2 separate regions of the Homo sapiens genome follow, and region 1 is linked to region 2. The links are contacts of gene promoters, found by promoter capture Hi-C in human tissues and cell types (Jung and others, 2019). All regions are on one chromosome and are shown on one strand. The core of a region is centred on a gene start or on the middle of the fragment in contact, and the rest is flanking DNA. Distances in the headings are between cores, read along the strand shown.

Region 1 (5,826 bases), core at 3,299-5,798, 210 kb after region 2:
AACCCCTGACCTTAAGTGATCCTCCCGCCTTGGCCTCCCAATGTGCTGGGATTACAGGCATGAGCTACTATGCCCAGCCTCTAAAATGTATCTTTTTCAGTGCTAATGAATGAAATGATGAAACATTCATTCTGCTTCGTACTCTTTCCCTGTACCTAGCACAGTGCAAGGCAAAAAAGCAGACATTTAATAAATGTTCGTGGAATTTAAATCACTGATGAGGGGCAAAAGAGAAGGCAGAACTGTGGGTATACATTCAGGAAGGGAGGAGGAGCTGGGAGCCAGGCCAGGGCTGGGCCTATGGGGATGGGCTAGGGGACAAAGAGCCACCTACCATCAGTACCCCAGCTTGAGCAGTCTTGGCAGCCAAGCCCAGTCTAAGTAGCACTTTCTTGCTAAGTGTTCTGTGGGGAGGTGTAATGTGTCTCTATTTAAAATTAATTTTTCAGAATTGGAAGCCCCACTCTGAAAGGCAGTGCTCCCTTGGTGGCTTCTGGCAGGATTGGAAAGCTATAACTTTGGAGAGAAACACAATAAACCAAAAATTTCCTCCCAGGTGAGCAAGAAACTGCCTCTCTCCTTCTGAACAGAGCATTTTCCAGAACTTTGCTCATCAAGTAGCTGGTTTTCCAGTCATTTCTTCTATTTGTAAGTGAACCACATTCCAGTCAACTGTCTGTTCTTCTCTCTGATGGATGGGACAGAGGCCTAGGCAATCAACATATAAGAGAGAACACAGAAGCAATTTCTCTCTGGCTAGGGGCTATGTTTCTGTATTTACATGTGAATGGAGTAGCGTCTGATGCTTGGAAAATTTGCAGTGCTTGCTGCCAATAAAGAAACACCACTCTGTGGTGGACTTTGGAGAATTTGTTCAGTTCAACAAATGTTTACAAAGGAGGTACGTGTAAAGCCACAAAGATTCATTCATTCATTCACTTATTGAGTGCCTACTACGTGCTCAGTATTGTGCTAGGCACGGAAGAAACAGCAGTGATAAAAGCAGAATCCCCCAAATCTCTGACTTTATGAAAGGGAAATAAACAGTTAATATTATAAATAAGTAAAATGCATACTATGTTAGGTAATATTAAGTACTAAGGGGACTAAGAAGAAAGTGGGGAAAGAACATATTGGGAGGTGGGAAGGGTTTACCAGGAAAAGCCTCACTGAAAAGGTGACATTTAATAACAACTTAAAGGACGTGAGGGAGTTAGACATCCAGAAATCTGGAGAAAGTATTCTAGAGAGGCCACAGCAAATGTGAAGTCTGTGAAGTAGGAGCACATTTAATGTGTTTGAGTAACAGCAAAGACCAGGAGATGTCTCAAGCCCAGAGGGTGAGGAGAATAGTAAATGATCAGAAAGGCAGTGGTTAGAACGGCAATTAGCAGCCATAGAGGTCACTGTAGAGATCTGGGCTTTTCTTTTTCTTTCTTTCTTTTTTTCTTTTTTTTTTTTTTTTAAGATGAAATCTCGCTCTGTTGCCCAGGCTGGAGTGCAGTGGCACCATCTCCACTCATGCAACCTCCGCCCCCTGGGTTCAAGCGATTCTCATGCCTCAACCTCCTGAATAGCTGGGATTACAGGCACATGTCACTACACCTGGCTAATTTTTGTATTTGTAGTAGAGACGGGGTTTCACCATGTTGGCCAGGCTAGTCTTTAACTCCTGACCTCAGGTCATCCACCTGCCTCGGCCTCCCAAAGTGCTGGGATTATAGGAGTGAGCCACTGCTCCCAGCCGACTCTGGGCTTTTAATATCAATAAGATGTGCTACCAATGGAAGGTTTGAGCAGAGGGATGATCACGATATGGCCTGACTTATGCTTTTACAGGAACACTTTGGCTGCCATGTCAAGGATAGAGGGCAAAGGGAAAGGGGCAAAGGCAGAGAGCCATGGGGGGGACTGCTCAACCATCCGTGAAGAGTGGCTTGGGTTAGGATGAGAGCTGGGGTCTGGATTTCTCTTGAAGACAGTATGGACATGATTTATTGATGATTAGACATGAGGTATGGGAAGAGCAAAGTCGAGGATGATGCCTGGGATCTCAGCCTGCACAACTGGAAGGATGAAGGCAGTGTCATCTGTTGCGACAGAAAAGAAAGCAGTAGGAGCAGGTGAGGGGCATGAGGAAAGAACAGGAACTTGTTTTTTGACATGTTAAGTTTCAGGTATCTCTTAGACACCCTAGTGGAGAGTGCTACTATATAGTTGGATAACAGAATGTAGAATTCAGGAAAGAATATTCTGAGCAGAAGTTATAAATTTGGGAGTCATTAGCATATAGATGGTATTTAAAGCCATGAGACTGAATGAGATCACCTAAGATGTGAGTGAGTGTGGATAAGAAAAGAGAAGAGGTCCAGAGATTGAAATTGGGGGCGCTCCAATCTTTAGAGGTCAGGGAAACAAGAAGGAACCAGCAAAGGAGACATTGAAGGAGAGTGGAGACAAACTCAGGGGAGGGTGGTGTCCTGGAAACCAAGGAGATAAAGAATTTCAAGGGGGAAAGAGTGGTCAGCTGTGTCAAAGACTGCAACCTTCCTGGTGGGGTAGTGGGGGCTAAGGCCTGCCTGAAGTGGGTTCAAAAAAGAATGTGAGGAAACACATGAGGAACAATGAGTATGGACAATGGTGTGAGACATTATGCTGTATAAAGAAGGAAATAAATGGGTGGTAACTACAGAGGGAAGTGGGGTCAAGATTTTTTCTTTAAGATTGGAGAAATAAGGATGAATATGGTATGGTCTGTTCTCAAGTTGCCATTAAGTCTAGCGGGAGACAGACCCATGGGCAGAAGAGATGACATAGAGCTGTTTACAGGGGTCTGTACCAATGCACCCCAGAGAGAATTGAAACTCTAGCCTAATTTGGATGTTTTGCTCCATCGGAATCTTATGTTGAAATGTTAGAGGCCGGGTGTGGTGGCTCATGCCTGTAACCCCAGCACTTTGGGAGGCTGAGTCAGGCAGATCACAAGGTTGAGGGATCTAGACCAGCCTAGGCAACATGGTGAAATCCCATCTCTACTAAAAATACAAAAAAATTAGCTGGGCATGGTGGCGTGTGCCTGTAGTCCCAACTACTCAGGAGGCTGAGGGAGGAGAATCACTTGAACCCAAGAGGTGGAAGTTGCAGTGAGCCAAGATCATGCCACTGTACTCCAGCCTGGGTGACAGGGCAAGACTCTGTCTCAAAAAAAAAAAAAAAAAGAAAGAAAGAAATGTTGGAGGTGGGCCTAGTGGGAGGTGTTTGAGTCTTGGGAATGGATCCCTCATGAATGTCTTGGTGCTGTCCTTGCAGTAATGAGTGAGCTCTCATTCTATTAGTTTACCTGACATCTGGTTGTTTCAAAGAACCCGGCACCTCCTCCCTTCTATCTTGCTCCCTTTCTTGCCATGTGATACACTGGCTCCCACTTTGCCTTCCACCATGATTGGAAGATTCTCGAGGCCTTACCAGGAGCAGTTGCTGCCACCATGTTTCTTATACAGCCTACAGAACTGTGAGCCAAAAGACACCTCTTTTCTTTATGAATTACCCAGCCTCAGGTATTTCTTCATAGCAATGGAAAATGGACTAACAAAAAAATTGGTACCAAAAAGTAGGACATTGCTATAAAGATACCTGAAAATGTGGAAGCAGTTTTGGAACTGGGTAACAGGCAGAGGTTGGAAGAGCTTGAGGGCTAAGAAGAAGACAGGAAGATGAGAGGGATTTGGAACTTCTTAGAGATTTGTTAAGTGGTTTTGACCAAAATGCTGATAGAAATATGGCCAGTGAAGGCCAGGCTGATGAGGTCTCATGGGGATAAGGAATTTATTGAGAATTAGAACAAAGGTCATCCTTGTTATGCCTTAAAGAACTTGGCTGCATTGTGTCTGGGCCCAGGAGCTAGGGAAGGTTGAACTTAAGACTGATGACCTAGGGTATCTGGCAGAATTTCTAAGCAGCAAAGCATTCAAGATGCACATGGCTGCTTCTAACAGCCTATTATCAGATGTGAGAACAAAATAATGACTTAAAATTAGAAGTTATAATTAAAAGGGAAGCAGAGCATAAAACTTCTGCAAACTTACAACCCTGGATGGTAGAGAAGGAAAGAGCATTTTCAGAAGAGGAACACAAGCTGGCTGTGGAGCAAGCACTTGCTAGAGGGATTAGCATGACTAAAAGGGAATCAAGTGCTAATATCCAAGACAATGGGAAAAAGGTCTCAAAGGCATTTCTGAAATCTTTAAGGCAGGCCCTCCCATCACAGGCCAAGAGGCCTAGGAGGAAAGAATGGTTTTGGACACCAGGTGCAGGGCCCTGCTACTCTGTGTAGCCTGAGGATACAGCTCCCCACATCCTAGTCACTCAAGCTGCAGCCTTGGCTCAAAGGGGCCAAGATGCAGCTCAGGCTGCTGCTTTGGAGGGTGTCACTATAAGACTTGGTAGCTTCCACATGGTGTTAAGCCTGCAGGTGTGCAAAATGCAAGAATGAAGGAGTTTTGCCAGCTCCCGCCTAGATTCCAGAGGATGTATTAGAAAGCCTGTGTGCCCAGGCAGAAGCCTGTCACAGGGACAGAACCCCCACAGAGAGACTTTACTAGGACAGTGCCAAGGGGAAATGTGGGATTGGAGCCCCCACACAGAGTTTGCATTAGGGCACTGGCTAGTGGAGCTGTGGGAAGGAGGCCGCTGTCCTCTAGACCCATGAATGGGAGAGCCACTGGCAGCATGCACCCTGAATCTGAAAAAGCCACAGACACTTAACTCCAACCTGTGAGAGCAGCCACAGGGGCTGCACCCTGTAAAACCACAGGGGTGGAGCTGTCCAAGGCCTTGAGAGCCCACTTCTTGCATCAATGTGCACAGGATGCAGGACATGGAGTCAAAGATTGTTTTGGAGCTTTAAGAGGTAAGGATTGCCCTGCTGGGTTTCAGACTCCATGGTGCCTGTTGTCCCTTTCTTTTGGCTGGTATCTCCCTTTCAGAGTGGAATGTTTACCCAATACTGGTATCACCATTGTATCTTGGAAGTAAATAGGTTGTTTTTGGTTTTACAGACTCATAAATAGAAGGAACCTGCCTTGAGTCTCAGATGAGACTTTGGACTTTTGATTGAGTGGATGCTAGAATGAGCTAAGACTTTTGGGGACTATTGGGAAAAGATGGTTGTATTTTGCAATGTGAGAAAACCATGAAATTTAGGGAGCCAGGGTCTGAAAGATATGATTTGGATGTTCTGTCCCCTCCAAATCTCATGGTGAAATGTGACCTATAATGTTGAAGGTGGGCCTGGTGGGAGGTGTTTCAGTCATGAAGGCAGATCCTTCATCAATGGCATGATACTGTCCTTGTGGCAATGAGTGAGTTCTCACTCTGTGAGTTCACATGAGACCTGGTTGTTTAAAAAAGCCTGGCACTATCTCCCCTCTCTCTCTTGCTCCTTCTCTTGCCATGTGATACACTGACTTCCCCTTTACTTTCCACCATGATTGGAAGGTTCCTGGGGTCTTACCAGGAGCAGATGCCAGTAACATGCTTCTTATACAGCCTGCAGAACCATGAATCAAAATATGCCTCTTTTCTTTATATATTACCCAGCCTCAGGCATTCCTTTACAGCCATGTGAAATGGACTAACAGAAATACTTTGAAAAGATAAGTCCTAAACCAAGTCTTGAAAGATAAGTGATTTTTATCCAGGGGAAGAAAGAAGGGAATGGTATTTCAAGTAGAAGGGAGAATATAAATCAAATCATGGAAGCTTGAAACAGCTTGTTGTGTGTGGAAATCACAAAGAGAGCAGCATTTCTTTTCAAGAGCTGAACTG
Region 2 (6,353 bases), core at 986-3,485:
CTAGACTGCTGTGCTTCACCCGACAGGACAGGCCAGCTGCCTCCCCAGCCACCACATCCAGGGTTGCTCGGAGATACCATGTCTCGTCAGCATTGGGCAGGATGTCCCCTGGCTGAGTGCCCTGCTGCTCCTGCTCACCCCGCATCCACTTCACCCATACAGGCTTTGGGTAGAATCCTGAGACATGGCACACCAGCAGCAGACGGCCAGGGCCAGGACTGGGGCCACGGGACAGCCAGGCCTTGGGCTTCACTGTATCCAACAAGGGAATGGGGGGGATCTTAAAGTGAAAACTCTGCATTAGAGGCTCCAGGCCTCATATCATCCTTTTTGACTTTCAGGTCTTTATTTCCCTCCTTCCTGTATGCCCCTGACATGTTCACTTCTGGAAATGAAGTCTCCCACAACTTTCAATCCATTTGTCCCACCTTCTTCAGGGAGCCTGCCCTGATACTCCTTCTTCTTCTCTGGTCCCAGCCTCCTATGAATGCCCCTTGTCTGTTCCCCTATAACACCCTTTGTTTTGAAGTAACATATGTAGCCTATTTCAAGCATTGCATTAATTAACATCCCCCTACCAAGCAGGGATCCTAACTAACTGCCTGACACCTTTCACCCCCAGTTGTTCATTAATTGAATTCATAGAACCCAAGAGGTGCTCAGTTGATGTCTGTGAAATGAATAAATACCCTCACCCCTTATCCAGCCCCTCCTGGGCCTTCCTCTTCTTTGAATGCTCAAAGGGATGAGAACCCTGGAATGGAAAAGCCCGTTTGGAGCCCTGAAGTGGAATGCAGGGAGTAAGGAAGGCAGGCTGACCTTGCTTCTTCAGTTCCGACTTCCCTGACTCAAGGAGGCCACTGACAAATTGGGGGCAGGTGCCATTAAGGAGCCACTGCACTGTTTCCCTCGTCCACTTGTCCTGGTTGAGCACTTGAATGGCCAAGTTTACCCAAAGTGGGGCCTCTTGGGTTGGCTCCCAAGAAGTTCCTTGGAAACTCAGGATATCTTTTCCTTGAAATGCTACATGGAAGAAGTTATTTGAGGCGTTCCCAGGGTGCACCTCACAGCCAGCGGACACCTGGAGCTCCAAGGGATCTGTGGAGAGGAATGGAGAAAGATCAAAGAAGGGTTTAAAAGACTGGGAGAGATGAAAGAGAAGAAATTGATGTGCAGGTTATAATGGGGACCCAGACTTCAGGGAAAGGAAAGTAAGTGACCTGGAGTAGGCAGGAACGAGGGACACTTTGAGGAGTCAAAGCCTGGGACATCTCCAGGTAGAAGGGAAATCAGAAGAGGGTGGACAGAGCAGAGAATCTCATCAGGTGGTGCCACAGTCTCCCAGTTGAGTTTCTGTGGCCATTCTCTCCCCTTGGGTACCGGCCCAGGATCCTATCCCTCAGCTCACAGGATAAGCGTAGCATTTTGGCGAATTCCTTCACGTCCCTGGTGAAGCTGCTTCGATAAACCCGAAATATATGCTGCAGCGTCTCCCACTGCTGGTCGCTGAACGTGCCCTGGGACCAAGGCTTCAGAGAGCGGACGGTGTCCGAGTCGTTGCTCCAGCTGTGCGTCTGCAGCTCCCCCAGCCACGCCAAGCCGTCGGTGCGCGTCCAGCTGCTATTGGCGAAGGACGAGATCTGGAGGCAGCGGAGGGGGAAAAGCCTTTGCGGGACTGGGAGAGAATGAAGATTGGAGGCGTGTAGCAAGTGGCCGGGAGAGCAGCCAGCATAAAGAGAAGGAAGAAAGAAACAAGAGGAGATGAGCTTCAGGAGGCGGCTGATGCCAGCGAACTCTGTGCCGCGCTGCCTCTCCCCGGAGCCAGGGAGCAGCGAGTTTTCTACCTAGATCGCGCCAGTGCGTCCCGGGTCTCACCAGTCCCCATCAGGCGTTGCCCTCCCCGTCCCTACCCAGCTCCCTCTCTCCGCCCTCCCGCGAGTGCACTCAAGCGCCCTCGTTCCACCCACCTTCAGCGCTTCCCCAAGCCTGGAGGAGCGCCCAGAGCAGCAGAAACAGCAGGCACCCCATATCGCCCGGCGTGGGGACCTCGCGGAGCGCCGCTGCGCGCCGCCCTCTGACCTGCGCACTCTTCTCCCCCGCCGCTCAGCTCACGTCCCTTTCCGCTGGGTGCCAGCCAATTCCCAAGCCCAGACCCCGGCAGCCCTCCTCGCTGGGCTTGCCGGCGGTTTGCTGCTTCTGCCGAAGGGCGCCCTCGCCCTTAGCTGTGCGAGCTGCAAAGAGGTCGGGGTCCCAGGAATCCTGGCGCCGCCGCTCACTTCAGTAGGTTTCACAACCGGCGTGTCTCAATTTCCTGTTTCAAAGGAGACTTTGGGTCAACGTGTGGGACGCTTTACAACCATTATTTATGTTTTGGAAGCAGGACATAAGGTTGTGTCTGTGTTACAATTCCAACCATGGTAAAAATGCAAAGGGAAAAAAGGATCAAAGTCCTTGCTTTAGCAGTACATGTCTCTAGGTGGAAAGACTATGAGTGATCTTAATTTGCTTTACATCTTTATGTTTTCCAAAATTTCTCAAGTGCAAGTACCACATTTACAATAAAGTAAACGCATGAAAATTAATTTCCTCAGTTGCACATTGAGAGAACTGGATTAGGTTGGCTACAATTCTTTACAACTGTCATATCCCAGGATTCCTCCACCTCAGTGTTCCCTAGCCTCTCTTTCCTCCTGTCATGGTCCTTGCTCTCCCCTCCCCGGCCTCTGCTCTGTCTTCCCTGTCTCCTTTTTGGGGACGCGCCCCCAGACTCTCTTCCTCCTCTCCGCCCTAGGCTCTGCCGGCATACCTTCTCCTCTGGCTCCTGACTCATTCACTTTCCAAATATGCGCCTCTGTCTTAAACAGTAAGTGTAAGATGACAGTGTGTACCTGGACAGCCAACTCGCCACTTCTCACACTGAAAATAAGAAAAAGTGACCAAAAATCGTGGTTCTAAGCCTTAGCTCACCTGGAGGAAAAGACTCCTCTTTGGCAACTCAGAACCTGGGCTGCAGCCTGACACCTCCCTCTCCCTCACTCTTTTTATCCAATCTATCTCCAACTCATCTCTATTTCACTTCTTTTTGAATACCTCTTGAATAAATTCCTTTTTCTATATTTCCACCGTCACCATCACCCTAACCTTTTGACTGATCTCCTGAAGTAGCATTCTTGGGTAGAAAACAAAATCATTAGCACGGCCTGCAAGATTATGCGCCCTCTAGCCCTGGTGTCTACCTTTTGACATCACCTCACACCCCAGCATCATTTGCTCTGTACTGTAGCCTGGCTGTTAGCTTTCAGTTCCTCCACTATGCAAAACCTCTTCCTGACTAAGGTCTCTGCACAAAGTTCCCTCTACATGAAAGCTCTTGACCTTCTCCTCACCTCACCCCCTCCCAATGCCTAGTTATTTCCACTAAGGTATCAGTTCCAAGGTCACTTTCTCAGGGAAGTCTTTCCAGATCTGCCAGACTGTGTGACCCTAGGCAGGAGAAGTAGGGCAGTCCCAACCTCCACTGCTTGTACACTAACTGGCTTTGAGAAGCCATCCTCTCAGCATGTAGCAGAGTTTATAATTATAGAAATGGCCATATGTCTGTCTCCCTCTGTGTCCTCTTCTAAATCAGCTGGAGAGGTGCCAGAAGGCAAGGATCATGTCTCCATAATCTGATTCCTCCCATTCTGCTAACGTTAATGTTTCCCTTCTCCCATATCCTGTTGCAGCAAGAGTCCTAGAGAAAATAGGCTACTGCACCACACTCTAGGCTGGGATCTTGTAGACAGCCCTAACCCAGCCTATCTAATTATGTGTAATTTGCCCAAAAAAGCTTAAAATAACATAGTAACGTGTTCTTGTAACAAATAAGGTGTTAAATTATTAAATTTGGATACAAAATTGCCTAAATAATGGATAGGAGGGAAGCTATGAGAAATAAAAAGAAAAATAATTATATGACTCATGGGGCAATATTTTTAACTTTACTTTCTTCAAATTTCCAAGCTCCCTTTAAAAACTTGAACAGTTCTGTTTAGTTTTTGTGTATCTTAAAAATTTTAAGTGCTAACATTCTTGCACACTTAAAGACAAGAAGCTGGTTTGTGTGTGTGTGTGTGGTTTTTTTGTTTTTGTTTGTTTATCAACAGAGGCCAGGCTATATTACCTTCAGAAGTTAGGACTATCTGGAATTATACGGATATTTTTTCCCAAAGGTCAGTTGAGTTAGACACTTTTTGGCTATTGGAACTTTCACTGCTTTTTTTCTGGGAAAGGAACCATTGAATTATGAAACGTTTTGCAATATGTTACCTAAACAAAATATTTTATAACAAGACTGACTCAGAATACCCTAGCACAGAGAGATGGTGATTTACTCAGAGCCTTAAAATAAGCCCACGGTGGGTACTACATGATCTCACTTATATGTGGACTCTAAAATAGTTTACTATTTTATGGAAACAGAGTTAGGGTAGTGGTTTCCAGGAGCTGGAGGGAAGGGGCAAATGTGTTAATTTTGGTCAAAGGGTTTCAGCCTCTCAATTTTGAGAGGCTGACCAAAACCTTGGAGCCTGATCATAAGGGACTTACTTGGTTTCAGTTCAGAATTCACAATTCACAACGTCAAATTAGTTGGAATCTTATATGCTTTCTTCATGTTTTTGTTATCCTAACCATAAGGAGACCATTTAATGTACAAAGGATAGCTGCATATGAGAATTTAAGATTCTTGAGAGGACACATCAGGGAAACTTTTATAATAGCTATCAGGAGGATAATACCAACGAACTAAAGAACTCTTCTTAATAGCACTTTCCACAAGCCAACCTGATCAAAATCAAACAATTCAAAGTTCAGTCAATAAAGTTTAACAGCATTCAAGTGCAATTGCTCATAGTCTTTATTCAGAGCATAATGGTGATCAAGGACCGTAGTTTGCTGTAAAATGGCCTGATTTAAAGAGGTATTCATTTTTGTAAGTAGCCTGATAATACAAACCACAGTAACCTGGAGATCCACTAAAAGAAACATAAGGATTAGAAAACCTTGTGATAGCTCTCTTACCTCTCGGACGTCCAGTCCCAGGAGCAAAACTCCAGCGACTTTGGGCCCCGCCCCCGTGAAAGTGGAGGGCGGCCGATGAGGACGGTTCTGAGGGAACTAGACCAATGAGACTAGCCTGGGGCGGGGCGCGGGGCCAGAGGGTGGGGCAGGTGGCGGCGATGGCAGTCCGAGGTCTGGCTCCGCGCAGTATATGACAGTACGCCAGCAGCGGGATGGCCCTAGCAGTGGCGGCGGCTGCAGAAGCCCAAGCAGCTGCGGCCGCAGTGGAGGCTGGAGCTGGACTGGCGGCGGCGGCACCTCTGGGAGTTTAAGATGTCGGGGGTGGGGGGGTCGCGGGGCAGCGCTATGGGCTCTCGTGCGGACGGCTGGGGCAGGACAACATCACCGTACTGCATGTGAAGCTCACCGAGTCGGCGATCCAGGCGCTCCAGACTTACCAGAGCCACAAGAATTTAATTTCTTTTCGACCTTCAATTCAGTTCCAAAGACTCCAGGAGCTTGTCAAAATTCCCAAAAATGATCCCCTCAATGAAGTTCATAACTTTAACTTTTATTTGTCAAATGTGGGCAAAGACAACCCTCAGGGCAGCTTTGACTGCGTCCAGCAAACATTCTCCAGCTCTGGAGCCTCCCAGCTCAATTGCCTGGGATTTATACAAGATAAAATTACAGTGTGTGCAACAAACGACTCGGATCAGATGACACGAGAAAGAACGACCCAGGCAGAGGAGGAATCCCGCAACCGAAGCACAGAAGTTATCAAACCCGGTGGACCATATGTAGGGAAAAGAGTGCAAATTCGGAAAGCACCTCAAGCTGTTTCAGATACAGTTCCTGAGAGGAAAAGGTCAACCCCCATGAACCCTGCAAATCCAATTCGATAGACACACAGCAGCAGCAGCGTCTCTCAGAAGCCATACAGGGACAGGGTGGTTCACTTACTGGCCCTGAAGGCCTACAAGAAACCGGAGCTACTTGCTAGACTCCAGAAAGATGGTGTCAATCAAAAAGACAGGAACTCCCTGGGAGCAATTCTGCAACAGGTAGCCAATCTGAATCCTAAGGACCTCTCGTATACTTCAAAGGATTATGTTTTTAAAGAGCTTCAGAGAGACTGGCCTGGATACAGTGAAATAGACACTTGGTCATTGGAGTCAATGCTCTCTAGAAAACTAAATCCATCTCAGAATGCTGCAGGCACCAGCCGTTCAGAATCTCCAGTATGTTCTAGTAGAAACGCTGTATCTTCTCCTCAGACACGGCTTTTGGATTCAGAGTTTATTGATCATTTA

Evidence for each region. Contacts are between HindIII fragments. The study calls those that stand out against the background at their distance.
Region 1: a contact is called between a fragment that was not itself captured here and the fragment with the promoter of CD1D in region 2, in 1 of the 25 tissues and cell types used here (H1 embryonic stem cells).

What each region holds. Positions count from the first base shown.
Region 1 is chr1:157,970,353-157,976,178 of GRCh38, reverse strand. No RefSeq gene overlaps it. Among named protein-coding and RNA genes, the nearest start is that of KIRREL1, 20 kb to the left of the region's middle. The HindIII fragment of the contact is 6,616 bases long and covers 1,241-5,826 here.
Region 2 is chr1:158,176,777-158,183,129 of GRCh38, reverse strand. It overlaps CD1D (CD1d molecule), which reads right to left and starts at 2,235. Exons shown (of 6, transcript NM_001371762.2): 1 at 1,968-2,235; 2 at 1,409-1,675; 3 at 820-1,098; 4 at 1-252. The coding sequence starts at 2,028. It also overlaps the pseudogene ELL2P1. RefSeq lists an enhancer at 1,705-1,764 and a silencer at 3,177-3,226. The HindIII fragment of the contact is 11,336 bases long and covers 1-5,576 here.